Linked DNA regions of Homo sapiens: region 2 is linked to region 1. Evidence: promoter capture Hi-C in 16 types of primary human blood cells and fetal thymus (Javierre and others, 2016). All regions are on one chromosome and are shown on one strand. Each heading gives the region's core, a stretch centred on a gene start or on the middle of the fragment in contact. The rest is flanking DNA. Distances are from core to core; before and after follow the strand shown.

Region 1 (4,072 bases), core at 785-3,284:
CTCTCCGTGGGGGGTGGAACATTCCAGCCTCCAGCCCCCAGCCCCAGAGCGCTTACCCCTGGTCCCCTGGGGTCTCAGGGACATCGAGGATGAAGGCCAGTGGCTGGGCCATGTCTCTGGCCAATGCCCGCTAGTCTGCAGACCTAGGGTAGCTCAGAGCCTGGGCGCCACCTCCGGAGCCCCCATCTGATGAGACAGGGGCACAGAGCCAGGGGTGGTCTTCAACGCCTGGCAGCTGTCCACACCACCCATTCCTGGGGGAACCACAGGAGGTGCCACTCACAGCCCAGACAGTCCCGCCCACCCCCCTATCACCCCAGGTACATAAATGGTGAGGCACCGAATAAGCCTCATGCCAGAATGGAATGGGGGGCCCCCTCCAGTGTCAGGGGAGGGGAGAGAGGAAGGAAGGGTGTGGGGTCTGCAGTTCCACATCTGTTTCCTCGATGTCGCCAGTCCCTGGGAAATGGGGAAGAGGTAGGGTGCCTGTAGACACAGCCCCTTTCAGGATCTCCATGCCCAGGGTTCTGGCACAGAGACACCTCCTTTTTGGAGAGAAAGGTCAGAGTAGGCTGTAGGCCTTCTCTGCGTCTGCCCTGTGACCTCAAAGAACTTCCTCTAGCAGGAAATTAGCTGCTGGAGCCCTCACCCCCAACCAGCCCCAGGCGGAAGCAGCACAGGGGGCTCCTCCCCCACACACAGAGGTCACTCCATGCCACCGCCGTCAGGGCGCCAAGGTCCTCATGTTCTCAGAAGACCCACTGCCCTGCATTCCATCATCCCAGGGCGGCCGGCTGGGGGTGGCCAGGACCTCAACAGGCCTCCTTTGTCCTGGCTCTGCCGTCACCCGGCACAACTGGAACCAGAGCAGCCTTGTCTGGGGCCCTGGGCTCGGGGCCCGTTCATCTGTGAGAGTGGAGCCAGGACTCAGCTCCCAGCCACCAGCGAGTCCTGCCGGCCTCTGCCCTGGACTCCTCCTGCGCTCACCCTCAGGAACTCAGGGCTCAAAGTCGGCCGGGTTGAAGGGCGCTTTCCTCGGACAGGCAAAGCCCGGGGGCGCCCCGACAGAGCAGCTCCTTGCAGGGGTGCCAGTCACAGGACCGGACGGCGCCCTCCCTCAGTGTCCTGGGTGCCATCTTCGGGCCCAGGCCCCACACCACCCCCTCCCTCCAGCAGGAGCAAAGACGTGGGAAAACCAGCCCAGAGCTGGGTCCGAGGCGGCCCCACCCAGCCTAACACGGGACAGCTGCCGAAAGAGGGGCTGAGGACGCCCCACCCAGTCCCTAGAGCTGGAATCCCTTCCTCCAGACAGGCCCTTCTAAGCTCAGGGAACCCGGGGACTCGGGCACCCAGCGCCCCAGCACTCCGCCCCGAGGCCCAGGCAAGTCCAGCGGAGTTTCCAGGCGCACCATTCCTGAGCTAGGTGGGGAGAGGCTGGGTGGCGCCCGTTTCCAGGAACCCCCACCCCAGCCGGCAGCGAGCTTCCCGGGAGCAGCCGCTACCCAGGGAGAACCGCAACCTGGCCCCAGAGCCCAGAGCGGCTGCAACTCTGGGGCCACCGAACCCGTCCAGCCGGCCTCCCTGTCCCCCGCCCCTTCCCATCCCGGCCACACCCCCTCCCCTCCCCTCCCCGTGCCCTGGCGCTCGGCTGGGGGACCTGGGTGGGGGCTGCGGATTTTGCTCCCCGCACTGTCCTCCCCGCCCCTGCCGCTCCCAGCTCTGTCCGAGCCGGAGGGTCAAGCCCTGGGAGCTCCAGGAGCACCCGGGGAGGGAACTCGGCTGCCAAATGGCCCCAGAGGCCGAAAGGAATTCAGGGGGGATTGCCGCTGTCCCCGCATAGGAGAAGCAGCTGGGGCTGGCGGGACCCGGGACCGGGATCGCGGCCGCTCACCTGGGAGGCGCCGGGGAGGAGGGGCCGCGCGCGCAGCCAGGGCTCACCTGTGCCCCGCAAGAGCCGCCGGGAACTGAGGTCTCGGCTCTCCTTGCCAAGGGAGTGGCAAAGGGCCCCAGGGGCGACTGGGCCAGTCGCAGGTCTGCCGGGGCCGGGGGAGTAGCCGCACCTCCCGGCCCACGTGGGCGGGGGGGGGGGGGGCGGGCCTCGGCTATCACGTGACCCGGCCCGGCCCGCGGCGCCCCCGCCCTCCTCCGGGCGCCCCGCGGCGACTATGCCTTCCTCCCCTGCCAACTTCCGACCCCTCCTCCTGAGGTCTGAGCTGGGCTGGATTCATTCCAGCCCCTGGTTGAAGTCCCCAATTTTTCTGACGCTCAGTTTCCCCAAGTTCCAAAAAGGGGCAATATTTCCAGACTCATCTGCTTCCCATGGTTAGGGATCGTCCAAGTAAGATGCCGCCGAAAGCCCCAGGGACACAGAGTATCTCACTCCAGATTGGGCAGCGCCCCCCCCCCCGCCGCCCCCGCAAGCCTCCTGCTGACTCTCCCCGACCCCGGCGGGGGGAGCCTGGTTATCTCCCACTCCTGACACCTGGGCGGGGTTCATTGTTTATCTAGCAAGAGTTCTGGCTCACTTCCTGTGTGCTGTGTGGAGAGGAGGGGATGAAAAGGAGGACACGCTGACACTTAGGTGACTGTCCCCAGGTGCTGTACCCGTTGCCCTGTTTTCTGTTATTCCCCATGAGCCAGGAAGGTATGCACTGATATTCCCATTTCACAGATGAGGAAACTGAGGCTGAGAGAAGTTAATCACCCTTTAGGGTGCCCCCAGCCAAAGCAGGAGACTTAGTGGTCCACCTGGGAACTCTATGGAGGAAACTGCCTTTGAGATTGTACCCCCCACCCCAAGCCCATTTGGAAGGGAGGGTCATTCCTGGCGGGGAGAAGCCATGAAGCAGGCAGGGTGAATGTGAGCTGGGGCCCAGGAGGGCAGGAGAGGGCACTGCTGCAGGGGAGAGCAGGCAAGCAAAAGCGAGGACCAGGCAGGGGTCAAGGCTGGGGCCTTTTGGAGCTGCCAGTGTGGTCCTCAGATGGCTACCCCAAGCTGGTTCTTGGCAAGTGGCACCCTGGCATGGAGACCCAGCCCCTGCCTCTCCTCCCACTGCTTCCCCCTCCCTGCATACCCACACTGAATTTGCATGAATGCCACCTCCTCTGGGGAGCCTCCCCAGATTGAACCCTGGTGGAGCACCTACCACTTCCTATTGACATGTACATCTGTGGTTCTGTGCCCCCTCCTACCCCAGCCCACTGTGTGCCCAGCACCAGCACATAGCTTGCGCCTGACACACAGAAAGGACTCTGGAAACCAGGAAGGAGGTGGGCAGAGAGGCAGAAAAGCTATGAACATTCAGACCTGAGATGACTGGGCCCTATAGCAGGTAGAGAGGGAGCAGAGAGGAAGGGCTGCGGGCTTCCCAGGGGCCCAAGGACAGAGAATTGGCAAAGATATGTCTTAAACATCTAGCCTGGGAGAGCATGAATGGAGCCAATTCCTGAGCACTTACTACCGGCCAGGTGCTAGGCCTGGGTCTTGGCACAACCATAACGCCAATGACAGGGGCTGGAAGTACAGCAGTAACACCAAGAGTATCTGGAAACCCAGCAGCCAGGTTCTGGGGAGCCCACCATCCTGTCATTATCACACCCTCCAGGGTGAGGCCGGCAGATAAAGAGTTTGGCCCCTGTGCCCCCACCGTTCCCATCCCCACCCATGTCAGGCTCCCAGCTCAGGCCTCGAGGTCAAGTCCTGCCTATCCAGGCTGGAAGGAGTTGAACAGAGAGGGCCTCAGCTGCAGGCTGGACATCCCTGGAGGCAGCCAGGCGGCAGACCCGGACCAGTGGACCCTAGGGCTGCAGGAGACCAGGCCCTGACTCCTGTGCAGAGGGGAAGGGTGGGCCACCCGCAGCCCAGCATGCACAGAGCTCCCTGGGAGGCCAAGTGGCCTACGCCTGTCACCTTCACCTCTGCATCTCAGGGGCCCACAGGAAGTGCCTGCTTGGCCTCAGTTTAAAGCAGAGGAAACCATGGGGTGAGAGGGGAGGAGGGAGGTAGTGGAGAGGGAAGCTGGGTTTCCTGTCATATGACCCCTCCTCTGGGCTCCCTCACCACCCTGCCTGG
Region 2 (6,082 bases), core at 1,240-3,739, 710 kb after region 1:
TCGCGCCACTGCACTCCAGCCTGGGCAACAGAGCAAGACTTGGTCTCAAAAAAAAAAAAAAACAAAAAACAAAAAACTTCTGTAAAGAAATTTCAGAAGCTTATTTAAAAAAAAGCATTATAAGTTGTCTGATTTGAGAAAATAAAAGAGCCTTTTCTCATGAGAATTATCAAAGACTTCTCACCAACTGAACAATCACTGCTGCGTCACATGCAGACAATTCAACGGAATCAAAAAATACACAGAAGCCTCGCAGACTCACCTGGGATGTGCAGACTTGGGCCTGCTGTCCTACTGCGGCATGGAACCAGGATCTTAACGGAGGGCTGAGTTTGGTTGGGCAGGTGCTACGCGGAGCTCCTGAATGTAAGCGCTCCTGGACTGTGGCCTGTTCAAACACCGAAGCCGCAGAGCGGGCGTCAGAGCCTGTGGGAGGGACAGGGAGACCATCAGTGGAGGCGACTCTTCCTGTGCCTTCTCTTCAGCTACTTCCCAGGGATGCGGCGCGCACCGGGAACCCTCTACCACGAAAAAGCCGTCCAAGGAGCATCCACGCGTGCACTCAGGATGAGGCGGGTGGACCGTACTACCTCATCACCAGTTGTTGTAATGCACACGATATGAACACCTTAACCTTGACCCCAGACAAGCCCAGAGAAGGAAAACCTCCCCAACACCTGCCAGTCAGCTCCAGTCTAATCTTATTTCCAAAGAGTAAGAGGTAATAAATCCCCAAGTTTTGGATTTAATGAACCAGTAAAACTTCAATAACAACAACAACAAACCTCAGGGAGTAATAGGAGTTGCCAAAATTTTGCTTTGCTAAGTGTGGATTTTCTCTTTCATTACCATCTACGATCACTATGATTACATAAAATTAAGGTTCGTAAAAACAGTTTACAGTGAAAACATTCAAACACACAGATGGAGAACCGCACAGGGAGCACATGAGCCCCCCTTATTCAGCCTCAGTAACTACATCTGACCCATCCTGAGTCACTTCCCATCCCCAGGTAATTCTACAGCAAATCTCAGACCTATGACTTCATCCATAAATAAAAGCATACCAACTCCCGAAAAATGTGTAAGGAAATGATCTCAGAATAAAAGCCATCTACAAAGTGAAGACATCCAGTCGTATTAAAAACTCCCCACAATATCACTGCTTTCGGTTAGGACTCACATCTACCCTGGAAGGTGAGAACTCTGTCATGCACAACCAACGCTTGAGAACCACTTAGGGAGGGGATAAACGAACCTTGGGAGATGTAACCCAGTTTCACTCGAGATAAGTAACTTTGAACTTAACCCACTCCTTAATGTAGATGCAGAGATTTTGAACACAATTTTTCAAGTGGGACAGGTCAATCTCTACTTCACCAATTCCACCTAAAACATTAAGCAATAACCTAAACAACGCTCGCTCGCTCTCTGACGTGTAGGAGCCCGAGACAAGTGTTCCTGTAATCACTAGCAATCCCTCCGACGCACACACCATCCACACTCTACCCAACTCAGGAAGGATGCTCTCTCTTGTCCAAGGACAGCACAGGCCTCATCCACATTTCCACCTGCGCGAACCCCAGCCAGCACCATTTAGGCTCATTCCCGCTCCCTCCTCCTTCTAAAGTCACTTTTCCAGGATGAACTGCAACGGACGCTCGCAGGGTCAACCACGTGCTGGGGAGAGGAGCCCACGGAAGCAGCGGCCTCCCGGGGCCCAGCGCCGCGCTCCAGGGGCCTCCCGGGCGACTCCGCAGCGCCTGCCCCGAGCCCGGCCGCGGACACAGCGACCCGAGCACCTCTCCCCGAGCATGGCTCCGTGGCGAGCGTTACGTAAACGGGGGCGCGCGGAGTCTCCCCTCTCGTGTGTCTGGGTTTGGCGGCCGCCACTCCAGCCCCAGGCCCAGGACCCCCACGCCACCCGCCAGAAGCAGCAGCATCGGAACCGCACCCCGCCCCGGGCTCCATGGCCTCCTCCGCAACCACGAGGAAGGTGCCCGCCCCGGGGCCGCACCCGCCCCGCTGAGCTCTGCGGCCGCACGCGACGCCCTCGCCCTGATTCCGACTTCAACCTCTCCGAAGTTGACCTGAATCCTGCACAGACAGCGGGCCCCGGCGACCCCCATCACCGGCCCGGAGCCCGGGGGACGGCGGAGACCGGCGAGGACAGCCCGGCCCCGGACCCTCCTCGGGAATACCCGGGCTCTGGAGAAGCGAGCTCGCGAGCGGGCGGAGCATCCCGGGTCCTCCTCGGGGACGGCCGAAGCCCTGCGCGGACCCGCGCCCACGTTCTCCCTGAGCGTCCCGGCTGCGCCCGCCAGCCCTTCCCGCGCCCCAGGCCTCGCGGAACCCCCCGCCCCGGTCTCGTCCCCAGGCCTGCGCACCGCCCCGACCCGACCCCAGCCTACCCCGGCCTCTCCGCGGGCGCGCCACAAGCCTACGCAGCCCTGGCGACTCCTTCGGCCCGCGGCCCAGCACGCGCACCATCCGGGCCTCCGGCGCCTCACACACGTGTCACCGCGACGCTTAAAGGCGCCGCACCCAGCGTTCGCGCTGCGCTAACTCCGAAAGGGTTGGGAGGCTTTAAGAGGCGGGGCTAGATTCCGCTAACTCCCTGTCCCCGCCCACCGCCGCTTCCGTGTCGCCTACGTCACCTCCCCATCACGGGACCCCGCCAGCCTACGTGATGACGCAAGTGCGCAGAGCCACAGGCGCTCCCGCCCCTGTGCCGCGGCAGGGTGACGTCTCCGCAGCGCACTAGAGGTGCCGCTACTTCCGGGTCGGCCGAGCACACCTGGCGGCGTGGCGGACGCCTGAAGTGTGACAGTGGCGCGCGCCCCCGCCCCAGAACGGGGACTCGAGGGACTTTGCCCACCCCTGCAACAGCCCTCCCGCGCTGTCTCCCGGGCAGGGAGAAGGCTGGGCTCCCCCACCTGCCCCTGGCCGTCAGGTGGCTGTGGAGAAGCGGAGGCGCGGGCGCTCGGCCTTAACGTCCCGGGCTCTGGGGCCATCCGTGACTCCCACACGCGGAGCACCTGCAGTTTGGGGAGGGAGGGATCTGGGAGCGATCGGCCAAAGCCTGGGGCTGCCGAGGAAATGGCTCTTCGGAATTAGGGATCTGAGAGTGTGAGATTTGACCTTTGTAGGCTGGTGGCGGCTGTGCAATCTCTAGCTCCACCCACTCCCTCCAAAAGCTTTGTCCTCTGACAGCTCTGCGAAGGTTTTAGCTGAGTATTTGTGAGCACGTATTTCTTTTGCAGTATTTTTAAAAATCCTCTTGATCTGAGGCAACTTCGCTGGCTTCCTCCCCATTCCCTTGGGCAGGTTGAGAGTGTTGGTTCCTGGCCTGACCTCAGAAACTCAGAGAAGCACAGGATGGGCATAAACTACTTTATCCAAAAGGCAGAACTTTGCAAACACAGTCGTATCTGCTGTGTCTTTTTTGATGTAAGTAGGAATGATGAGTAGGGTGAAGTCACAGGTAAACAACCCAAAACGAATTTCCATGCCCTCCCCACGGATCCTAAAGCAGGGACTGGAGATGGGGAGAGAGGCTAGATGTACTTGGAACAAAATTCACCTTGTATTTATTACCTGGGCGCTGGTGTTTTTTGAAAAAAGCAAACAAGATAACCATATTAGTCTGATGCTGAGACTATGCCCTATCTGTAAGAATCCTTGGGCTGGGCGCGGTGGCTCACCCTTGTAATCCCAACACTTGGAGGCCAAGGTGGGCGGATCACCTGAGGTCAGGAGTTCGAGACCAGCATGGCCAACATGGTGAAACCCCGTCTCTACTAAACATACAAAAATTAGCTGGGTGTGGTGGTGGGCGCCTGTAATCCCAGCTACTCAGGAGGCTGAGGCACGAGAATCCCTTGAACCTAGGAGGCGGAGGTTGCAGCGAGCTGAGATGTCGCCACTGCACTCCAGCCTGGGCGACAGAGCGAGACTCCGTCTCAAAAGAAAAGAAAAGAAAAGAAAAAAAGGCAGGGCACAGTGGCTCACGCCTGTAATCCTAGCACTTTGGGAGGCCGAGGCAGGCAGATCGCTTGAGGTCAGGAATTCCAGACCAGCCTGGCCAACATGGTGAAAACCTGTCTCTACTAAAAATACAAAAATTAGCTGGGTATGGTGGCGCACGCCTGTAATCCGAGCTACTAGGGAGGCTGAGACAGGAGAATCGCTTGTACCTGGGAGGTGGAGGTTGCAATGAGCTGAGATCGTGCCATTGCACTCCAGCAGCCTGGACAACAGAGCAATACTTGGTCTAAAAAAAAAAAAAAGAAAGAAATGCAACGTAGGTCTCTCACGAAATTAGCCCAAATCTTCAGCCATCTTCTACAGGCTGTGAAACCAGGAGAGGAATTGAGTCCATCTTACCTTGACCTCCCAGGCAGGGAGCGGACCAGGTAATTTTTGGGTGACAATACAACTATTCTGTTAATGCACCTTTTTCTTGAGGTAAGTTCTAATGTGATCCGTTTTGGTTACAGCTTTCTATAACAGAATATTTTATTCTTTCATCTTTAATGTTTCTCTAGTTTTCTCTTTTAGGATTTAGAGATCATTCAGTCTCATCTCAAATATTTCAATTTCCATGTGGTTCTTTCATAAACATTTATCCACAGTGAGCCTGCCCTGCATTCTTTGGGTGTGGCTGACAGTTGCAGCCACCCTCAGGTCTGCGGGGGTGGGTGTGTTGCCCCTGAACTGCAATAGCAGAATTTCTCCCTAGCCTGGCAGGGGAGTGCAATCGTGGACTTGCTTTTCCACCCGCTGGGGTTGCATTTCATAGGTGCCGAGTGCCTGGGGGGCCCAGGCCTTTTCACATGAGGGTTTTCAGCCCAGATGTCCCTCCTGCTCTAGGGGAACCCTTCACATCAGTCAGGTGACTTGCTGGACTGGTAGAGCCTCTGCCATCAGCCTCTGATGCAAAACCTTTTCTCAGGTGTCTGTGCGGTCCATGGAGACCCGAGTTCCCAGGTTTGGGAGGGATGCCACTTTCCTTAGGAAGAACAGCAATGTATGTCGTCCTTCCCATCCATGCAGATGGGACAGGGCTCTCAGGAAATCTGCCATTAGCATCGCCCTAGAAGATGCACAGGCAGAGGCAGCTGCTGGGCACAGGCACTTGGGGAAGACAGGAGCCATGACGCCACGCCACCTGTTGGTACCCAAAGGAAGTGGCTCTTTTGGCTGCTTGGCACCATTCTTATGACCCTTCCATTTTGTTTCTAGTCTCAGAAGGGGTGGAGAAAGTCATCCTTCCTAAATGGTGTTGACTCTCAGACATCTGACCGTGCCAGGAGAATGGCTGTGCAAGGCGGCAGCCCAGGCCCGGGCAGGTGGCGGCCAGGAGTTGGGACCACAGAGGGCACTAGCAAGAGCAGCAGCTGCTCCGAGATGCTTTGGCACAAGTCAGGATACGTATTTTGTAGTTTTCTCTTGTTTTTTATTTTTCTGAGGTGGAGTCTCACTCTGTCGCCCAGGCTGGAGTGCAGTGGTGCAATCTCAGCTCACTGCAAGCTCCGCCTCCCGGGTTCAAGCGATTATCGTGTCTCGGCCTCCAGAGTAGCTGGGATCACAGGTGCACGCCACCACACCCAGCTGATTTTTGTATTTTTAGTAGAGATGGGGTTTCGCCATGTTTGGTCTTGAACTCTTGGCCTCAGGTGATCTGCCCCCCTCAGCCTCCCAGAGTGCAAGGATTACAGGCGTGAGCCACCGCACCCCACCTCCCGGCCTTTTCTCTTGTTTCATTTTGGTAAACTAAATTAGTTTAATACCTCTACCCCATCGGTGGTTGGAATTCCCCACCTCAATCATTTTGGGGGCTCTCTGCCTCCTTTGAATAGGACAGATCTCCAGGGGTTTACCCAGGCTCCGAAGAGCCACTCCAGGCAGCCGGCTGTTTGGGGAGGTGCACCCTGGTCTTCTAGTCTGCGGATTCCCTGCATCGCTCCCCTGGTACTGCTCTCAAGCTCAAGGGTCACCTCAGCCAGATGTGCCCTAGGCTGGCAGAGGTCCTTCCCCTAAATGCAGCTGGGCAGGATGCCACCCTTTCTACAATAAGTTC

Evidence for each region. Contacts are between HindIII fragments. The CHiCAGO score rates a contact against its expected background, and 5 or more counts as called.
Region 2: a contact is called between the fragment with the promoter of USP36 here and the fragment with the promoter of TMC6 in region 1, in 2 of 17 cell types (activated CD4 T cells and non-activated CD4 T cells). The highest score is 5.6, in activated CD4 T cells.

Annotation. Positions count from the first base shown.
Region 1 is chr17:78,126,721-78,130,792 of GRCh38, forward strand. TMC6 (transmembrane channel like 6) reads right to left here and starts at 2,035. Exons shown (of 20, transcript NM_001127198.5): 1 at 1,892-2,035; 2 at 57-186. The coding sequence starts at 112. TMC8 (transmembrane channel like 8) reads left to right here and starts at 4,051. Exons shown (of 16, transcript NM_152468.5): 1 at 4,051-4,072. RefSeq lists silencers at 149-198, 249-328, 1,599-2,128 and an enhancer at 669-918. The HindIII fragment of the contact is 18,616 bases long and covers 1-4,072 here.
Region 2 is chr17:78,838,325-78,844,406 of GRCh38, forward strand. USP36 (ubiquitin specific peptidase 36) reads right to left here and starts at 2,490. Exons shown (of 21, transcript NM_001385174.1): 1 at 2,412-2,490; 2 at 263-426. It overlaps LOC124904067 (a long non-coding RNA gene), which reads left to right and starts at 2,790. Exons shown (of 2, transcript XR_007065923.1): 1 at 2,790-6,082. RefSeq lists enhancers at 1-458, 459-973, 2,568-2,757 and silencers at 1,898-2,417, 2,878-2,977. The HindIII fragment of the contact is 3,098 bases long and covers 98-3,195 here.